Linked DNA regions of Homo sapiens: region 2 is linked to region 1. The links are contacts of gene promoters, found by promoter capture Hi-C in human tissues and cell types (Jung and others, 2019). All regions are on one chromosome and are shown on one strand. Each heading gives the region's core, a stretch centred on a gene start or on the middle of the fragment in contact. The rest is flanking DNA. Distances are from core to core; before and after follow the strand shown. Region 1 holds the start of RHEBL1 (RHEB like 1). Region 2 overlaps PRKAG1 (protein kinase AMP-activated non-catalytic subunit gamma 1).

The links. Contacts are between HindIII fragments. The study calls those that stand out against the background at their distance.
Region 2: a contact is called between a fragment that was not itself captured here and the fragment with the promoter of RHEBL1 in region 1, in 2 of the 25 tissues and cell types used here (hippocampus and mesenchymal stem cells).

What each region holds. Positions count from the first base shown.
Region 1 is chr12:49,068,265-49,071,676 of GRCh38, reverse strand. It overlaps RHEBL1 (RHEB like 1), which reads left to right and starts at 1,698. Exons shown (of 8, transcript NM_144593.3): 1 at 1,698-1,943; 2 at 2,571-2,642. The coding sequence starts at 1,892. RefSeq lists enhancers at 1,255-1,304, 1,675-1,984 and a silencer at 1,535-1,654. The HindIII fragment of the contact is 9,146 bases long and covers 1-3,412 here.
Region 2 is chr12:49,004,370-49,007,781 of GRCh38, reverse strand. It overlaps PRKAG1 (protein kinase AMP-activated non-catalytic subunit gamma 1), which reads left to right. Exons shown (of 12, transcript NM_002733.5): 3 at 1,930-2,039; 4 at 2,239-2,320; 5 at 2,418-2,476; 6 at 2,617-2,662; 7 at 2,764-2,818; 8 at 3,149-3,275. All of the region lies in intron 1 of DDN-AS1 (DDN and PRKAG1 antisense RNA 1), which reads right to left. Among named protein-coding and RNA genes, the nearest start is that of DDN, 6.7 kb to the right of the region's middle. The HindIII fragment of the contact is 3,048 bases long and covers 309-3,356 here.

The sequences.
Region 1 (3,412 bases), core at 449-2,948:
AATTCTCAACTTCATTCAACATGATCACTCTAGTCAAGCGCTCTCATCTCTCACCTGGACTACAGGTAACAGTTTCCTCGCCAATCTCCCTGCTTCCTTTTGCTCCTGTTACCCTCAAACCCCAATCTATTCACTACAGCCAGGGAGATTTTTTAGAAAGACAATTTAGATCATGTCATGCCCCAGCTTAAATACCTTCAAGTACTTAGAATTAGCCCAGACTCCTTTATGTGGCCTGGCCTCTGCCATTCTCTTAGACTTCATCTGCTTTAGGCTAACTGGCTTTCTTTTTTTCTTCCCCTCTTCCTGGAATTTACCCAATTTATTTCCATCTTAACGCCTTAGCATTGGTGGATTCTTCTTGTGAAATCTCCTAGTTGGTTCCTTCAGATCTTAGTTTAAATGGGGTTTCCTATGAGAGAAAGTATCACTAAAGTGGTCATCTCAGCCAGGCTCGGTGGCTCACGTCTGTAATCCCAGCACTTTGGGAGGCCGGGTCAGGTGGATCACTTGAGGCTAGGCGTTCGAGACCAGCCTGGGCAACATAGCAAAACCCCATCTCTCCCCAAAATACAAAAATTAGCCAGTCTCATAACCCTGTCTCAAAATAAATAAAGAAAAAAAATTAAAAATGCTGTATTGTCTTTAAAAAATAAAGTGGTCGGCCGGGCGCGGTGGCTCACGCCTGTAATCCCATCACTTTGGGAGGCCGAGGCGGGCGGATCACGAGGTCAGGAGATGGAGGCCATGCTGGCTAACACGGTGAAACCCCGTCTCTACTAAAAATACAAAAAATTAGCCGGGCGCGGTGGCGGGCGCCTGTAGTCCCAGCTACTCTGGAGGCTGAGGCAGGAAAATGGCGTGAACCCGGGAGGCGGAGCTTGCAGTGAGCCGAGATAGAGCCACTGCCCTCCGGCCTGGTAGAAAGAGCGAGATTCCGTCTCAAAAAAAATAAAAATAAAAATAAAAAAATAAAAAAAATAAAGTGGTCATCTTTCATCACACCATCTTCTACAGCACTTAACACTCTCTGATATTTCCTTGTTGTATGTTTGTTTCTCCCTTCATAAGAGCAGACACATTGTCTGTGATGTCCATGTTCTGACCCCAAAGCTGGAGCAATGCCTGAAACATGTAGTATATACTCAGTATTTGTTGAAAAATGAATATTTGAGGATCATGATGATGAAGAAGAAACCTCAGACTACTTGATCATAAATTCTAGCAATTTCTGCAAGAATAAGAATTGCAGTTTGAAATTAGATGCTGGAAGACTGGAAACCTTGATAGGTCTGGGGCTGAAGGCTGGGGGAAGCAGAAGGAATATACTAGAACTTTGGCGGTTTTCTCCCTATCTAAGGACCCCAGAGACCATGCAAAAGGGAGGGCTAGAATCTTATGACCGGAAACCACAAAACGGGTATTTTCCATCCATAATTCTTCGAAGCCACTTCAGCTAGGCTGTAAATGCGCAAACGCCTTTAGGACCCCGGGTTCCTTTCTGTTTCTTTATGAATGAACCGGCTCCAGTCTGCGCACGCGCAGCTCCCAGTTCTCCCGCTCCACGTGAGGCCCACCCTTCCCTCCTGCTGGCGGCACCGCCCTTACCCATTCTAATGGACCAATGGCGAGCGGCCTGGGGGGCGGAGCCCGGCGCGGCGCGGCTCAGTAGTTCCCCGGGCGCCCGGCTCCCTGGCGTTAGACGTGCTGTGTTGTGATCACGTGGGCAGCTCCGGGCGCGGCGCTTGTTTTGGTTTCCTTCTAACTTGCCCACGGCAGCTTCGGGGTGAGCGACTTTCCTGCACCAGCTGCCGCGCCTGCTCACACCCTGACCTCGTTTTCGGGCTCTCTGAGCCCGCAGTTCCGCAAGCCCCTGGGGCGGGCTCCTGCCATGCCGCTAGTCCGCTACAGGAAGGTGGTCATCCTCGGATACCGCTGTGTAGGTGAGTCTCCGCCCTGCAGAGCTCGGACGCGCAGCAGCTTTGTAGCCAGAAGAGGCGCGCTGCCGTGGGAACGCGACCCAGGGAGGAATGATGACATCGTAAGGATGGGGTTGTAGAGCGAGGATTGGAAGAGTGGAGGAATGGAAGAGTGGAGGATTGGAAGAGTTGGTGGTGTGTGGAGGCTGCAGGAAGCGGGAGCACTTAAGGGTTAATGCGGACCTGGCTGCGGGAATCTCAGAGTGGTCCCAGCGTTACTTTGGGGATAGGGGTGGGGTCACAATTTGAAAACCGGGACGCGGTCTCCGTGGGGACAGATAGTCGCAGGTGTCCTGGGGCGGGGCGGACTTGATCCTAGGGAATCTTGGATCTTCCTACGAGTGGGATGGGGTGGGGAAGGCGGCGGGAAAGGCTTCCTGCTGCGCTTCTGAATGCATCCGGTAGCCAAAGTGCGGAGACCCTGGGTGAAAAGAGGGTGAGGGTAGACACAAAGGATAGCATTGCTTGAGGCACTCACAGACTGTGGTGTTAATTTGGGGTCTCCTTTGGTCCTGGGCCACAGTCCGAAAGGACAGAGGATGTGAATGTGGATGGATGATTTGGATACAACTGTCACACTGCTCCCCACAGGGAAGACATCTTTGGCACATCAATTTGTGGAAGGCGAGTTCTCGGAAGGCTACGATCCTACAGTGGAGAATAGTGAGTAGACTTCTCCCCTAGTGTGCTGGTGGTATGCGACCCGGAGGGCTTGGATACCCCACCCAACTCCATAATTTATTTCTCTGGTGCCAAGGGGCTGATTTATTTAGACATTACATCTGATTTCTTCTTTAGCAATCCTGTTCGATGGATGGCTAGAGTATGGATTTTGCAAGATATTGAGTCTGGGATAGTTTAGATGTAGACATTAAGAACCTTAGCGTGTCTTTCCAGTTACCTGGATAACTCCCTGGAGCTGATCTATCTGTGTCACCCCCAAGGTTAAGAATGTAAGGGGAGGCTGGGCGCAGTGGCTCATGCCTGTAATCCCAGCACTTTGGGAAGCTGAGGCGGGCGGATGGATTGAGGTCTGGATTTCGAGACCAACCTGGCCAACATGGTGAAACCTCATCTCTACTAAAAATACCAAAATTAGCTGGGCATGGTGGCGCACGCCTGTAATCCCAGCTACAAAGGAGACTGAGGTAGGAGAATCGCTTGAACCCAGGAGGCAAAAGTGGCAGTGAGCCAAGGTCGTGCCACTGCACACCAGCCTGGGTGTCAGGGTGAGACTGTCTCAAAAAAAAAAAAAAAAAAAAAAAAAAGCTGGGCACCGTGGCTTATGCCTGTAATCCCAGTTCTTTGGGAGGCCAAGGCAGGTGGATCACCTGAGGTCAAGAGTTCGAGACCAGCCTGGCCAACATGGTGAAACCCCGTCTCTACTAAAAATACAAAAAATTAGCCGGACATGGTGATGGACATCTGTAATC
Region 2 (3,412 bases), core at 583-3,082, 64 kb after region 1:
GGAGTCCTAGTAGGAGAGAGAACTAGAAATTCTCATCTTCTTTGGTAGATAGATGATAAATAATGCCCCAAAATGAAAAAAAAAATGGAAACTAGCAATACAAGCATGTTATTTAAGGACATAGAATTAAGTACCAAAATAATCAACTAAGGTAGATAGATGTTCTCATCTCTGGGGAAGGGTAGTACAGGGAGGTGGGTTGCAAGGAGTGCAATTTTTTCTTAACAAAATTTGTAAAACTGTTGGACTGATTTAACTGTGTGTCTATATAACTTTGGTTAAAAAAATAAATATTAAAAACCAAATTGATTAAAGACTTAAGAGCATGAAGTTTGGAAACAGATCTGGGTTTGTTTGAGTCTTTCTTGCCACTTATTAATGGTGTGACCTTGAGCAGTTTATTTAACTACACCTATTTTCTCATCTGAAACATGAGGACATTACTTACACATTTGTTGTAAGGATTAAATTATGTAATTTTTTTTTTTTTTTTTTGAGACGGAGTCTCACTCTGTCGCCCAGGCTGGAGTGCAGAGGCACAATCTCGTCTCACTGCAACCTCCACCTCCTGGGTTCAAGCAATTCTCCTGCCTCAGCCCCCTGAGTAGCTGGGACTACAGGCACGTGCCACCACGCCTGGCTAATTTTTATATTTTTTTAGTAGAGACGGGGTTTCGCCATGTTGGCCAGGCTGGTCTCAAACTTCTGACCTCAGGTGATCCACCCACCTTGGCCTCCCAAAGTCCTGGGTTACAGGTGTGAGCCACCACGCCCAGCCAATGTAATTTATTTATTTATTTATTTATTTTTTTGACACGGAGTTTCACTCTTGTTGCCCAGGCTGGAGTGCAATGTTGCGATCTCGGCTCATCGCAACCTCTGCCTCCCGGGTTCAAGCAATTCTCCTGCCTCAGCCTCCCGAGTAGCTGGGATTACAGGCATGCGCCACCATGCCCGGCTAATTTTGTATTTTTAATAGAGACAGGGTTTATCCATGTTGGTCAGGCTGGTCTTGAACTCCCGACCTCAGGTGATCCTCCCACCTTGGCCTCCCAAAGTTCTGGGATTACAGGCATGAGCCACCACGCCCAGCCTCAATGTAATATTTTTAAGTGCACGTAGTATAGTATGTAGCACATTCAAGCTATTATTTTGGGAGATTACTTCCCTAGTTTAGAGCAAGCAATTAAAATCACAGGAATAGAAAAAGGTAAACTAGCCAGGATCTCCCATTTGTCTAGAGTAGGTGGGATGATTTCTGATTTACAGGGTGATCCCAGAATGGACTATCAGGGTGTTTTGAGCCAGGTTGATTGAGCACTGGGCTCCAACTTATTGTTAATGAGAAATGGCCCAACTTGGACCATGACTTTCCCATTTGCAGGTCTTAGAATAATTTTTTTTTTAATTGAGACAGGGGTTCGCTGTGTTGCCCAGGCTGGCCTCGAGCTCCTGGGTTCAAGTGATCCTCTGCCTCAACTTCCTGAGTAGCTGGGATTACAGGTGCTTGCCACCATCCCCAGCACAGTCTTGGAAGAATTTTAAGAAGCTTACTTCATTGAAAAAAGAGGAAAGTGAAAATGTGCTAAGTATATGAAAGGGAAAGCTTGGATTAAAGATGAGAAACATTTTTAGACTATAACATGTTAAAGAGAGATACTATAGGCTTTATGTTTTAGTCAACTTCTTTTACCTATAGGGACCAATAGATAAAGTCTTAACCTGGAGACAGGGGTTGGATGAAATGGTTTCTAAGAGGTTTATCCAGGTTTTGTGGAAACAATAGGAACAAGACAGATAAAATAAGGGGTCTTATTAAAAAATAATGCTCTAAATATTTGAGATACTAGAACACTATTTTGTTTTCTGTCTCTTTTGATTGGGAGTTTTTATGTGGAAGGAAGCTACTAACTATCCCACCCTATGCAGAGACCCCAGAATCCAACAATAGCGTGTATACTTCCTTCATGAAGTCTCATCGCTGCTATGACCTGATTCCCACAAGCTCCAAATTGGTTGTATTTGATACGTCCCTGCAGGTGGGTGAAATCCTCTTTTCCCTTCCCCCTTTGGAGCCTGTGGTTTAATACCTCTCATCCTATCTCATCCTAAGGGTAATATCCTTATCCTTCTGTGAAGTTAGTCTCATGTTTTACCCAACATGCCCAAACACTGTTCTTTTTTTACAGTCCTGCCCCTGTGGATTTGCCTTTATGATTATTACTGTCTTGGCTACAGGTGAAGAAAGCTTTTTTTGCTTTGGTGACTAACGGTGTACGAGCTGCCCCTTTATGGGATAGTAAGAAGCAAAGTTTTGTGGGTAAGCAAAAGTTTCTGGAACACAATATTATTGGCATCTTGTGCTGGGCAGGGAGACAAGCTTCAGGCAGTGCTGAGGGCTCTGTCTTGTCCTCTAGGCATGCTGACCATCACTGATTTCATCAATATCCTGCACCGCTACTATAAATCAGCCTTGGTAAGGAACCTTAACCCAATGACCAAAATCACTTTCCCTGCCCTAAATCCCTCATTCTCATTTCTTTTTCTCCAAGCAAGCCACGAGGGCTTAAGGAAGCAGAGAGATCAGGTCTCAAATTCTGTTGCTTCTGCTTTCAGGTACAGATCTATGAGCTAGAAGAACACAAGATAGAAACTTGGAGAGGTATGTAGAGAATTGGGGTTATAAAAGGATAAAGGGATGGCGGGTTTCTGGGAAACACTTTTCCATGGTGGTATTTTGTGACCCATCCCTTTTCCCTTCAGAGGTGTATCTCCAGGACTCCTTTAAACCGCTTGTCTGCATTTCTCCTAATGCCAGGTGAGTTCCAGTTACCCATCTGTCCAAAAAGCGGAAGAGATTTTGTCATCAGCCTAGCTAATGCCCTAGACACCCAGGGAAAGGGGAAGAAGAGAGAAAAGACACACACACACACACACACACACACACACACACACACACACACACACAGTCTCTCTCTCTCTCTCATTCTCACTCTCTCTCTCTCTCTCTTTCTCTTTAAGTCTGGCCTGTACACTGCCCCCCTTCCCTAACCATCAGTTTTCCCTGTTGAGCAATACACTGTATGGACCTGTTTAATCACCCCCAGCCCCAGCACTGTGGAACTTATTATCTCCCACCCTCTCACAGCTTGTTTGATGCTGTCTCTTCATTAATTCGGAACAAGATCCACAGGCTGCCAGTTATTGACCCAGAATCAGGCAATACTTTGTACATCCTCACCCACAAGCGCATTCTGAAGTTCCTCAAATTGTTTGTAAGTGCTCCTCAGCCCAGTTCTTTTTTCTCTTTTTTCATTGATTGATTGATTGATTGATTGAAAAGAGAGACGAGGTCTCACTGTGTTGCTCAGGCTAGTGTCAAACTCCTGAGCTCAAGTGATCCTCCCGCCTC